4 separate regions of the Homo sapiens genome follow, and regions 2, 3 and 4 are each linked to region 1. The links are contacts of gene promoters, found by promoter capture Hi-C in blood cells and fetal thymus (Javierre and others, 2016). All regions are on one chromosome and are shown on one strand. The core of a region is centred on a gene start or on the middle of the fragment in contact, and the rest is flanking DNA. Distances in the headings are between cores, read along the strand shown. Region 1 holds the start of FLRT3 (fibronectin leucine rich transmembrane protein 3). Region 2 has its middle 20 kb from the start of OTOR. Region 3 overlaps KIF16B (kinesin family member 16B). Region 4 overlaps KIF16B (kinesin family member 16B).

The links. The method cuts DNA at HindIII sites, captures the fragments that hold promoters and counts their contacts. A CHiCAGO score of 5 or more calls a contact.
Region 2: a contact is called between a fragment that was not itself captured here and the fragment with the promoter of FLRT3 in region 1, in 2 of 17 cell types (naive B cells and total B cells). The highest score is 9.8, in naive B cells.
Region 3: a fragment that was not itself captured here is called in contact with the fragment with the promoter of FLRT3 in region 1 in 1 of 17 cell types (total B cells); the score reaches 5.3 in total B cells.
Region 4: a fragment that was not itself captured here is called in contact with the fragment with the promoter of FLRT3 in region 1 in 1 of 17 cell types (naive B cells); the score reaches 12.2 in naive B cells.

Annotation. Positions count from the first base shown.
Region 1 is chr20:14,336,083-14,339,475 of GRCh38, reverse strand. It overlaps FLRT3 (fibronectin leucine rich transmembrane protein 3), which reads left to right and starts at 1,864. Exons shown (of 3, transcript NM_198391.3): 1 at 1,864-2,072. All of the region lies in intron 3 of MACROD2 (mono-ADP ribosylhydrolase 2), which reads right to left. The HindIII fragment of the contact is 777 bases long and covers 1,836-2,612 here.
Region 2 is chr20:16,766,183-16,769,575 of GRCh38, reverse strand. No RefSeq gene overlaps it. Among named protein-coding and RNA genes, the nearest start is that of OTOR, 20 kb to the right of the region's middle. The HindIII fragment of the contact is 2,356 bases long and covers 392-2,747 here.
Region 3 is chr20:16,503,940-16,507,332 of GRCh38, reverse strand. It overlaps KIF16B (kinesin family member 16B), which reads left to right. Exons shown (of 26, transcript NM_024704.5): 8 at 1,143-1,311; 9 at 1,480-1,611; 10 at 2,786-2,961. Among named protein-coding and RNA genes, the nearest start is that of KIF16B, 68 kb to the left of the region's middle. The HindIII fragment of the contact is 1,563 bases long and covers 780-2,342 here.
Region 4 is chr20:16,480,333-16,483,725 of GRCh38, reverse strand. The region is part of intron 12 of KIF16B (kinesin family member 16B); the gene reads left to right. Among named protein-coding and RNA genes, the nearest start is that of KIF16B, 91 kb to the left of the region's middle. The HindIII fragment of the contact is 3,982 bases long and covers 1-3,393 here.

The DNA.
Region 1 (3,393 bases), core at 615-3,114:
CAGAACCAACTCCTATCTGAAAATGGCTTCTAGAAATAATTATTTAATAAAATAATTTAATCCATGTCTTTGTTTCATAGTAACAGAAAAATATCCACCTCCCTTTCCTCCCAAAATTCAGCTGCTGCATATCAGTTTAATTGTACTACCTAGCAGTTCAAAGAAATTGGCTTTTCAATGGACATTAGAATCTAAAACTCCTAGATTTAATGGGTCTGTCCTCTGAGGCCCACAAAAGTGCAATCATAGAACAATAGGGTCAATACATTTCTTATCAAGGGTTCACCTACTTTGATATCACCCATTCTTGGAAGGGAACTCAGGTCAAACTGTTATCAAACAAATATATAAATAGATAAACTAAATGAAGCTAATGAAGAGACCACAATCAAATAGTCCTGGGAAAGACTATTAGCTGGCCTTCTTCAGAAATAAACATGCAGGGAAAAATTGAGAAAGGACAAAGGAGAAGGTCATGCACCTCTAAGAATAGAGCAAATAAAGATATTAGTTTAAGACAACGGTCCTCCAGGTAAATATAAAAGCTAAGTTCTTACCACCAACATGAACAAGTGAAATACACTTATTTGATGGAAAACTTACGGGCACAAAGCAATTGTTGACCAAATAGCAGAAACCAGTCTACAAAAATCATAATTAAAAATACAAGTATAATTCTGTTAATTAGGCATAGAAATTTATAATCTCCACGTCTTACAATTGTCCAGTGTTTATTCATGTACCTAAATTAAACTAAAATAATTTCAATCCAGGCAAACCACCCTGAAAGATTTTTTTCTTAAGATGTTTATATCTAAACCCATGCTCAGATCAGCAAAAACATTTAGAAAGGAAAATATTCTATTAAATTTTTTAAAAACATTTTATTGGGGGATCGTTAAATATAAATAATCCATTTTAAATAATATAAACACGTAGCAGAAGTACATAAAACATACTTTCATTTTCTAAAACATAGAGAACAGTAACTTCTTCGCCTCCAAAAGAACAGACCATTTAATACCATTTAAAAAAATCTTTTGGCATTCCTATTGCCCTTCCCATAACTAAATGAATCAGTGACACGTGTATATATATACATATATTGGAGATGGAGTTTCGTTCTTGTTGCCCAGGCTGGAGTGCAATGGTGCAATCTTGGCTCACTGCAACCTCTGCCTCCCGGGTTCAAGTGATTCTCCTGCCTCAGCCTCCCAAACAGCTGGGATTACGGGCGCCCAGCTAATTTTTTCTACATGTTGGTCAGGCTGGTCTCGAACTCCTGACCTCAGGTGATCCTCCCACCTCGGCCTCCCAAAGTGCCGGAATTAGAGGCGTGAGCCACCACACCCAGCCCTGATGTATATATTTGAATCTGCTGTTTATTCATATGTTGAATAAACATTCACAGTTGGGATTACTGGCATACATCTTCCACAATTATAACATTATTTTAGCTAGTGAATAATAAAACTAATTTGATTTTGGTTAACTTCTTTTCAATACAGATGGTTTAAAAATAAGACAAAGCCTGTCTTTTTCTATTGTGATCTTAAAAATATCTTTCTAACATGCTTTTTAAAAAAAATACATAAGTATGCTACCACTGCCTTGTAGTAAACTTTAGAAAATGTTGAGATTCCAAAGGGCTGCCTACAAACCAAATGGCATCCTAGCTTTGGCAGGCTGATGCTTCATTTTGGCTGCTCTCGCCCCCTCTAGCGTTTGCAAAGCTCATCTGTCTGATTATCCAGTTACCTCACTGAACAAGATCTTGGCTAAGTCCTGCCCATCTATGACATCACCCCCTTCTTCAGCCACTGCGAGGTGAAGCTTTAAACTTCAGACTTGGAGGTGGGCTGTGTGCAGTAAACTGGAATGCTCTCCCTCGCTCACTCCTCAGTGTAGGAGTGATCTGAAGCAGGACAAGCTCAGCCTGCAGCTGCCGTGGGCTTTGTGTGGACTGGACGCAGAGCTTGGGAGACGGGGGAGGGCTATTACTCCAATTCACTGTCAATGGAATTACAGCTATAGCGGCAGTGTATATAGGATTGCTTTTTCTCGTCTTCCTGGTAAGTGTTTTCCATGTTTTTTCTTATGATTGTCCCAGAAAGTTTGCTTGGTTTTACTCTCTAGAAAGAAACGACTTGATACTATGAGAAATCCAAATAGGAACGTTTGCTCTGTCACCACAACAAGCAATATATGTGCGTGCAAGCCAGCAATGAAAAATTTCACTATCATGGCTGAATGTAAGAAGTTTCTTAGAACCTTCTTTCATTTATAAAAGATAGTAAGTGGCTATTTTCTGTCTTGAGTAATTGCTATGTGAAAAGAGCCTTATGGAAAACAGCAAGTTGGAAAGTTCAATGTTAAATATTAAAGAATACAAGGAGATTCTTCACAGATAGGAAAGCAACTTGGTGTGTACTGTACGTGTGGGATGATCACCAATTGCTGTTTTTACAACTGTGAAAGAAAATCAATAATCCCTCAGCCCATGAGTACGCAGTACATGAAAAGCATACATCTTGCTCACAGCTAGCCGAGCTACTCCTGGAGACTTATGTGCCTCTGTAAAGGATTAACAGCTACACCTAGATTTTAAAGCTTGCACTGCTATCGTGCCTGAGCTGCTTCAAGCATTTCAGGCTTGCAAATCTCAACTAGTAAATTGAACTCAGAGGAGGGGGAGACACTCTTCCAAACCATATTCCCTCTTCAATAGAACACCAAAATCCATTGCTTAGGCAAGTGAAGTATGTGACTAGCATAGTAAATGGCTAAGTCTACTCAGAAAAACTAACAAAGCTCACCCTGGAAGCTATGCCTGATGTATGCAGTGAGTTTGGGGTAGCAGGAAAGAAAAATAAATGAGTAGAGCCCTTATCAAGTGGGTTTTGCAGAGGATCCATTCTTTGCAACTTATAATAGGAAAATCTTATATTGGAAGAAATGCATTTATACTACAAAGCTTGAAAAAGTAGTTAAATGTATCTTCTCAAAAAATTTTGTTCACTGAATTAGGTCTGAAACAAAATGGTTGCATATAGGTAAAGAGTGCAACAGGCCCATCCATGTCTTCTCAACATCTGGGGGGTTTGTTTTTATTATTTTATTTAGAATTTAAAAGAAAAAAAATTGATTTTTTTTTCAATTTTTAGTCCAAAATCTCTAATGGTTTTAATAATAAGGCTATTTTAAACATTCTTAATAAATCTGTCTATTAATAAATCTGTCTAAAATGCTCATCTATGTTATTTTATTATCCAGAAACAACATAAATAAAGCCACTAGAAAAGTCCTTCAGCTGTAGCAATGCCTTTCATTTATCTCTGACTGCATAAAAATATCCTGACCAGCCTAAACATAAAGAATAAATTTGCTTATATT
Region 2 (3,393 bases), core at 320-2,819, 2.4 Mb before region 1:
ATGCTATGGTTTGGATGTGGCTTGTCCCCAACAAAACTCATGTTGAAATTTGATCCCAATGTGGCAGTGTTGGAAGGTGGGACCTAGTAGGAGGTGGATCCCTCATGAATAGAGTAATGCCCTCCTGCAGGGGTAAGTGAGTTCTGGTTCTCATAAGAATGAATTAGTTCCTGAAAGACCAGGTTGTTAAAAAGGTTCTGGCTTCCTTGGTTTGTCTCTCTTGCTTCCTCTCTCACTGTGTGATCTCTTTGCACATGCCCGCTCCCCTTCCACTTTCTTCCATGAGTGGAAGCCTGAGGCCCTCAGCAGATGCAGCTGCCCAATCTTGAACTTCCCAGCCTACAGAATCATAAACTGAATAAATCTCTTATCTTTATAAATTGCCCAAGCTTAAGTATTCTATTACAGTAACACAAAACAGACTATTACAATCTATCAGGCATTTTTCTCATTACTTTACATATGTTTCCTTACTTAGCACCCACAACAAGATTACTATTATCATCATTATATATATTTTCTTTACAAATGAAGAAACTGAGACACAGCAAGATTAAGCTGCCATCCAAAGATCGTACAGCTGACAAGTGGCTGAGCCAGGATTTGAACCCTAGAAATCTGGCTCTAGGGCTCTAAAGTTCAAAATCTTAACTGCTATACTAAGAAAGTTGAGACAACAGGCCATATTCTAGCACTGTTGACTAAGGGAAACAAAAGAGTCACCACAATTTATAGAGTAACAGCACAGGGAAGCAGATCAGAGTTTCATAGTGACATCTGGCTGCAAGAAAAGCTGGGAAACATAATTGTGTTAGTTGGGGTTTCTTCAAAAGCAGACCCTGAAATAAGGACTTGGGCACAAGTACTTTACTTAGGAGATACTTCCAAAATATAGAAGTGACTGAGTAATAAAAGTGAGTCAAGGGAAGAAGAAAAGCCAGTAGAGGGAGTGTCATTGAGCTTCTTGCTGCTCTAGGCATCTGGGGTTCAATCCCACAGGAGGCCTTTGGGGAACCTTGTAGAACACAGCTCAGAATTAGTCCATCTAAGGAAGAGGAGGTGGCGGCCTCTATCCACCCACTACCATCCCCCATTGGCCGAGGGCAGTTGTCCCTACAGGTCCAGGTTATGCCCACACTTGTCCTTCCACAGCTTCAGAGAAGAAAGAATAGAAAGACTCCATGTGTGCCTGATGCCTGAACTTGTCGTCCAGGGCTGCCATGAGGTTACAGGGACTGCAGGGCAGCAGCATGAAGCATCACAAGCACCTGAAATAGGAATCTTGATTCTGAGTGGTCTGTGCATTGCTAAAATTCAGGAACTTACTACTACTAAAGGATGAAGGAGAAAACAAATTTGGGGATTCAATTGGTGGTCTCTGTCAAATACCCTTTTACTTTTATCTTTAATTTTTTTCTCAAAAAAGCCATGCCCAGGGACCTTAAAACCAGTATCATTTAAAGGTTGGGGCCAGAACTGCCTTTATATTTCTGCCAATCATCTCCACAAGGAAAGACCTCATGCCAGATCTAGATAGAGGCTTTATTAAGCCAGAGCTTTGCCTTTAATGTTTGTTGGATCAGCTAATGTTCCTGGTACACTCTATGTCTCTCCAGGTTCTTTCTCTGTCTTAAGCGATATCTCAGCAACTCTCATAAGCATTACACTCAGATATAGGGAAGAGGAGTTAGCTGTTGCTGCATGAAAAACCACTCCTAAACTTAGTGGTTTAAAGCATGTATTTTCCCTATGAATCTGAAAAAGCAGTTTTGTCAATGGGGACAGCTCATCTCAGCTCCATGTGGCATGCTCAAAGACTGGGGCAGGGATCTTCTGCAGTCTCACTCATATGGCTGCTGCAGATGGTATAGATAATGGGTGGCCAATGTGAGCTGTCATCTAGGACCTCAGATAAGGCCTGTGGCCAGAACAGCCTATAGTGGCCTTTCCATGTGGTGGGTGGCAGGATCCAAGGTCAAGAGTTCCAAGAGGGCTACTGAAAGTTGTATGGCTCCGAGGACTTTTATTCTTAGAAGTCACACAGTATCCTGTTCACCTAGTCACAGGCCCACCCAGTGCCAAGAAAAGGAACATGGGTGATGGAACATGCTGATAGGGCCATATTTGGAAAATTCAATGTGTCACAGAAGGCATGAGATTTAGACAGGCTATTCCTACCAAATACCTGTGTATGTGTGCGTTCATAAGCATTTTAACTGTGTGTCTCCTTTAATCACTTATACCCATGCCTAATGTCTGACCATGGAAAAAGCCCTTTATCTCTCCATATTGCAGGCTGTGGGACACCTTGGGAGGTTTCAGGCTTTATTTAATACTTTTAATAAAATCTGCAGAGCTCTGAGTGTTATAAATCATGTGCCAAAAGTTTCGGCTTTGTGCTTAATGGCAAAGCTAAAACAAAATGACTTCCTCTTGAGTTTCAGCAATTTGTTAACTTAGAAATATTACCATTCAGCAGTTTCCAAACCTTTCTCTCTAATAACCGTTTTATCCTGTTAGTATACTTTATGGATCTCTTAGCCTTTTGTTTCTCAATGAAGAAATCCAAATTATCCTTCTCTGATTACCCTAAGTATTTACTTTGTTCTGGAGTCTGCTTGTTATAGTTCTCTTCTCTGATCAAGGCAGCTTGCTCAGTCTCTTTCCTTTAGATCATACACCCAAGTCGTTACACACATCAACATAGCATAGATCCACACATAGCACAGTCCTGGCCGTAACAAGCTTAACAGTTAAGAATTCATTTGGCTGCAAGTAATCAAACTCTTAACCCGTAGAGACACATCTGTTTCACATAATACACTGATGGTTCCAGCTGCCAGTGGTGATAGACTGGCTTATGACTTACCAACTCTCTCAATAAGAGAAAACAGAAAAGCTGCACAAAATATATGAATATGTTTGTGCTTTCAGAGAGCTACCAAAGCAGTGAGGTCGTGAAGAACCAGATCCCAGAGAGAAGGAAGCACAGTCTCACTGAATTAGTACAACAGAGAGAGAGCAGGCACCAGCCCATTAGAACAGAGCAGAGTCCTGAAGGACAGATGCTCTTCCGGGCATTCACCCTCTAACTGTTTGAGGTCCTTGTGATAACAGGGGAGGGACTTATGAGGCAGGTGTGGCAGTGAAGGAACACTCTTGGGGGCTTCAGGGAAATAACTATTTACCAACTAGTAAAGAAGTGTTTCAAAATATATGGGTACAACTAGTACCCATGTATCTAGGAGAATTAATCTACCTTCCATACATCTCACAGATGCAACAACGTCTATCAAATCCAGATATTCAAAATGTCACTTCTACACAATATAACAAGTACAAAGAAGTTCCTGAGAGGGTTTGATTAAGTCAGATTTGGATGAGAAAATTTGC
Region 3 (3,393 bases), core at 312-2,811, 2.2 Mb before region 1:
TTAACAGTTGGACACATCAGATACAAAGAGGCAGCATTTTATTAATGAGGGAGATCAAAGAGCACAAAAATGAGTTTTCTAAGGCCAGTCAGAACAACTTGCATTAAATTCTCCACATCTTAATCTTCTGTTAGACCTTTCCTTTAGATTTACTCAAGTTGATTGGTTTTTCTCCTGCTTTCTGGTTAGTGCTTGATTAGCATATTACCATCTCTAATTTTTTTTTTTTTTTTGAGACATGATTTCACTCTGTTGCCCAGGCTGGAGTGCAGTGGTGTGATCACGGCTCACTGCAGTCTCAACCTCTGGGCTCAAGTGATCTCCCACCTCAGCCTTCCAGGGAGCTGGGACTGCAGTGCACAACACCACGCCCAGCTAATTTTTTTTTTTTTAAGTTTTTTCTAGAGATGGTGTCTCACTATGATGCCCAGGCTGGTCTTGAACTCCTGGGCTCAAGCGATCCTCCCACCTTGGCCTCCCAAAGTGCTGGGATCACAGGCATAAGCTGCTGGGTCTGGCCACCATCTCTCATTTCTAAGAGGTTTAAATTTCTATAAAAATATAGTAATCTGGCGGGGGGCGCATTTTGGTTCAAAATGTAACACATAGATCAGAAGTATTTGTGAATATAAAATTTTGGTAGAATTCAGAAGCGAGGAATATAGTATTTAAGATTTTACATTAAAAGAAATAATTTGTGCAACAAGATGTTTTAACATCCGATAATGGTTGAATGCTCTTTTCCGTACTTGTCTATATTGATCATATTTTGGAAAGCTTTTGTTCTTGGAAGGCTGGGATTCTAGATGAGAATAAAAATTATTATTTGCTTACTTACATTTCTCTGCTGAGTGCCACTCAGTGCCTAGTTTTCTGTTCTGCCACAGCCTGATTCAGCAGGGCTTGGTTGAGAATGAAATGCTTCTTTAGAAAGTTTAAGAATCATATACAGTAACTTCTTTTGCATTGGATTAAATTTGAGAAGTTTCTGTAATCAGTAGGAAGGCCAGTAAAACAATAAAATTGAAAAATATCTACCCTGAGAGATCTCAGTGAGGAGCAGAAAATAGTTAGAATTCATATCATCAACAACATCAGGGCCCTTTGCACCTCTTCAATTTTACTTTTTTATTTTACCACAGGCTAAATTTGATTCTGAAATGCCATGTGAAACCGTCAGTAAGATCCACTTGGTTGATCTTGCCGGAAGTGAGCGTGCAGATGCCACCGGAGCCACCGGGGTTAGGCTAAAGGAAGGGGGAAATATTAACAAGTCCCTCGTGACTCTGGGGAACGTCATTTCTGCCTTAGGTATGCTTACGCCTGGCTCCTGCCTCCTCTGTTTCCTCCTCTTTTTCCTCATGTGTAATATTTGGGTTGCAAACTGAGGTAATTTCTTCAAGGTTTTATGAAGCAAAAGTAGAGGAAAAAAAATTTTACTAATTGTCCTTTCTCCCCTTTGTTTCTTCCTTTTCATAGCTGATTTATCTCAGGATGCTGCAAATACTCTTGCAAAGAAGAAGCAAGTTTTCGTGCCTTACAGGGATTCTGTGTTGACTTGGTTGTTAAAAGATAGCCTTGGAGGAAACTCTAAAACTATCATGATTGCCAGTAAGAGTTTTAAGTTACTTTTCTGAGCATACAATATTTTCTGTGAATTAACTGTAAATATTTAAGTTTAAAGTGTCTTATTAGGAAATAGCACCTTTTACATCTTAAAAAAGTAATGGTTTTTCTATCTTGAGGAAAATCACCTCCTATGATCCTGCTATGATCCAGTCTATAGTATCATCATTAACTGTTATACCACCTTGCCATATTTTGGAAGCTGTGATAACATGCACGAAGACTTTTCAGCTTTTCTTTGCTTAAAGTGCAAGGTAGAAATTTACCTCATAGGAGAAAAATCATAGGAACACAAGGTCAAAATAACCCAACTTTGTTTTTTTATTTAAGGCAGTAAATGCGGAATTTAAAAGTAAGAATTGGGAGGGGAAAAAAAAACCCAATGCATAAAACAAATAATGGTAACAGCAGTATACTTTATGTCAGTATTTCAGCCAATAATTGAAAGAAGCAGAATAGAGAAAAAAACGTAGAAAGGGGAGATAATTGTTTGGGAGAAGTCAGGACTTGTTTCCCTTCTGACTCTACTTTCCCCTCCCTCTTCCTCTCTTTCCTCTTCCCTTCCCCTCTCTTCATGCCCTTCCCATGCTTCATGCCATGTGCTAACTATGGAGCCACGGGATTTACCCTGGTTTGTACACCCACATGCATTTGTATAGTCACCTAATCCTTAAAGTTGAGTGGTAGTGGTGGAGGTGGGTAAGATTAACCAAGCTTTAAGAAGAGAATGGATAGATTTGTGACCCTTTTCAAAACTTATCATATTCTGTTTTTTTTTCCAGACAGTAGACTTTGCCAGAACTTTTAAAAGTATTTGAATTCCTACTTAATGTTGAGATGACAAATAGTCTTTAAACCTTCTTCTTACGTTTTCAGCAGGGAAAACTACCTAACTATAGGGGAATGTCTCATATCTCATTTTAGACTTGGTTAGGTGGTTGATTCTAGATTTGAGAAGAGCAAAATGACACTTAATTTTGTATTGTGAACACTCTTTCCTAGAAATGTTAGATAATTTTTCATATTCATTACTGTGGCAATGAATATTTAGTCTCTCCAATGACCTGGGGTTAATCTGACTTTTAAATTACAAACCAACTTTGTGTTAAATGGAACATGGAGTGCTGGATAAATTATTTTTTGAATACATTCTTCACAGCCATTTCACCTGCTGATGTCAATTATGGAGAAACCCTAAGTACTCTTCGCTATGCAAATAGAGCCAAAAACATCATCAACAAGCCTACCATTAATGAGGATGCCAACGTCAAACTTATCCGTGAGCTGCGAGCTGAAATAGCCAGACTGAAAACGCTGCTTGCTCAAGGGAATCAGGTTGGGTTTTTCTGAGATTTATGGATAATTTTCTTTGAGTAATGGCATCTATTTCTAGATCTTAATGAGACAATTTTCTCACTCATGCTATTGATTTGAGTAAATAAGTGCTAAGTAAAGCTTTGAATGAGTTAGCCAGTCCCTCGTTTACATCAACCTCTTGTCAGCCTTTGCATTCATTACGGGCTGCATGTGTAAGATTTTATCCACTAAACCTGAAATGATTAACTCTCTAATAGTTATCAATTATGAATGGAAATGTACTATGCAATAGGATTAATGGCATAATCTCTTTAAGTGGAAAGAAATTGATATGCTTAGAATAGTATTTAAAATTTCACCCATGCATTTTATGACTTTAAAATGTGTTTTAACAGAATAAAAGACTTGTTTGAACACCTTTCTGAATGCCTGTGTCATATCACCTATTAG
Region 4 (3,393 bases), core at 534-3,033, 2.1 Mb before region 1:
TTATGATTTTTCTGACGTTGGTCACCACTCACTTTCTGTTTCTCAGAACCTCACTGCAAGATGCCAACAATAGTAGTTCCTGTTATATAAGGGGAGAAAGGAAACACACAGAGGCTGAGGGCAGTGTCCAGCACATGGTCAGCACTGTGAGCATTACAGCATGTGTTCCATTTTCTCTTATTAATTTTGTTTACTCTGAATCTATCCTTTTTGATGTAAAACTGGGTTACCAGTAATACCTATCTTCTCAGCTGGGCAGAAAAGAAATGAAATTATGTATATGGAAACTTTTTAAGGTATGTAGTTTTATACAGATACAAGCTGGTGTTACTTAGACGTATTTTATCAGGTAGCTACAATTTTCTGTTTGTTTATTTACATTGAATAACAGAAAACCCAATTCCAAACTGGATTATATGGTACAGGGGTTTATTAGCTCACAGAAGAGTGATGGTGGGATGGAGTTTAGGCATGGTTTGATCAGGGCTCTGGCTCACCAGGATTCTCCTTGGTTCTACTTTTTGGTGTACTGACTTACTCCTCAGGCTGTCTACCCTCAGAATGCAAAGGGAGAGCAGCAATTACAGATTCATATCTCCCTAACGCATTACCCAAATTCAAGGAGTGTGCATTCCTGAGTTCCCAACAACTTTTTGAGCTCTCCATTGAATGGTGCATTTCTGAACCAGTCTCTGGGGCCAAGGAGACACTGTATGCTGACTGGCTTAGGTCTAGGTTATCTAAACCAATCAGTGTGATAAGGGATAGGTTACCCTGATTGATTGAGATGAATCAAGGGCCACCTCTGGAGCCCTTTGGAGTGAGGTCAAGCTCATTCACCACAGCTTCTGTGAGCTGGGGTTGGGGGAGCAGGTGAATCAGGGTGACACCATTCACATTTCCTACCATAAATATAGAACTTGGACACTTACTATAGTGTCATATATATTCAAGGCAAACAGGAGATGCACATGAGTTGAGGCATTCTTTTACTTCTTAAGAGAAAATATTTATGACTCAGGAATCCTGTATTGAGGTGAAAAATTACATAAAAGCAGCTGAATATCTGTACTGTGGTGTGAACATTCCATTACAGGAGAGCCCTCTGTTTTCTGGTGTTAGAACTGAAGAATGGCACACAACAAATTCTGTGTATTTAAAGTCATTTTCCTTTTCTCCTTTAGATTGATTACATGATTTAAAATGAGCTCCAAATGCGGGTGTGTTCTCTTCAGTCTTTCATAGGTAGTTTTGAATTTGGCTCAATTTCTCATTGACCTCTTTAGCTTGCTGTTTTCCATCCCAGCCTACCTAGCAACAGTTACTAGGAGCGGCAGGTTGGACTTGCCCTCCGTTTGTATCACAACAGCCAGTTTTCAGAGATTACTTTTTCCTTAGCATCCTGGTTGATTTTGCCTTTGCATTATTTAAGGATGACAGCAGTTTCTCTTAACTCCAGGCAGCAGAGCTCCAAGCAGAAGTGGTGGTATTAAGAAGTTTGTATCTGTAAGGATCAGATTATGCTAATCAGCATAATTAGCAAATGGGCATCTACTGACAAAAGAATAAGGGCCTAAGTTGCATGTGGATGTCTATTACCAGGATATTCTGATATTTCCAAGGAGGAAGATGACTATACACTTCTCACATCTTATCTCGTACTTTACATGTCACCTTTGTTATTCTGGATCCAGCATTGTCATCTTTCTGACCATGGTCACAGGTCACTTTCTGTTCCCCAGAACCTCACTGTAAGATGCAGACAGTAATCGTACCTATCATACAAAGTGAGAAACGAGGACAGGCAAAGTGCTGACAGTGGTGTCTAGCACACAGTCAGCATTACAGTAATGTCATCCATTTTTTCCTTATTAATTTTGTTTACTCTGAACCTGTCCTCTTTGATGTGAAACTTTTCCAGCTAAAACCAGCCTTCCTAAGTTGTCTTTGTCAAATGGATGAGAGGAGTTGGTTCCAAATAGCTCTGAATTCTCCCTGAAAGAATTTAGCCACACAGACATCACAAAAGATGGTCATTTTCCTCTAGGTCCAGTACATTATACATTTAAGCCTTTTTTGTTCTCGTAATTAGAGTGAAAGTGTGCTGGCATTCCCAGCAGATTTGATGGAAGTCAAGCAACAGAATTTGACGTGACACTTCTTTAGGTTGCTAAGTCCTATTTCTCATCCAAAACCACATATAGCAGTTATTCTCCACCTCAGAAGTTGACTTTTGGACAGGTGTGGTAGCTCACGCCTTTAATCCCAGCACTTTGGGAGGCTGAGGTAGGAGGATTGCTTGAGGCCAGGAGTTTGAGACCAGCCTGGGCAACATAGAGAGACCCTGTCTCTACAGAAAAAAAATTAACCAGACAGGTGGCATACGCCTGTAGTCCCAGCTACTTGGGAGGCTGAGGCAGGAGGACTGCTTGAGCCTGGAAGGTTGAGACTGCAGCGAGCTGTGATTGCTCACTGTACTCCAGCCAGGGCGACAGAGTGAGAACCTGTCTTGAAACCACTTCCATACAGAAGTGGTTTCCACTCAGAATCACTGGGGATCTTTTTAAAAAGACAGTTTTCTCAGCCTACCGCAGACACGTGAAAGGAGAATGAATAGGAGTGATACCCCCAAATCTCTATTTTTGACGAAAGTGTCCTGAGCCTCAGAAGAGTTGGAAAGCACAGCCCTAAAGCATGTGGAAGATCATCCCTTCAAACACATCTCTCCATGTTTATTGCATGGTTGTAGGTTCATAGAATCAAATGGTTCATATAACTTGGAATGTTTTGCAGCCCCCAAGTTGTACACTCATACAAGCATTTGGAGACACTGGGTGATGCCATTTGAAAAGAAATTTTAACTGAATAGATTCATTTTGTTAAATGCAGTTATTTGTTCACAGAATTAAAAAAAAACTATTTGAATTGGTTTTTGATTGAGATTTAACATACACAAAGTGTGAAGAGATGGTATATGCAGCTCATGAATTTTTACTTCTGTGTACCCCCATCTAACCCACACCCAGATTAAGATGTGTAGACATTGCCAGCTTCCTAGCTCTTTCCTCCTCTCTGCGGTTGTTCTGTGCATTGTGTCACCTCTTCACTGCTTATCTCATTTGAATGAAATACACAAAAGCCTTGTCCTTTTTTGAGTTCCTACTCATTCTGAGTTTTCACTTAATTTATTCTTTTGACATATCTTGAGTATTTTATCATTATTTAAGTCTTGTTTACTGAGGTGACCTGGATTTTGCCCTTGGACCTATCACTTACTAGTTGTGTGACTTTGACTAAGTTATATTCTCTCTCTTGGTCTCAGTTTTTTCAATCACAAGTGGGTAGGCTGATCTAGGTGAACTCTTGAGGATTTCTTCTGTCTAAGAAAGACTC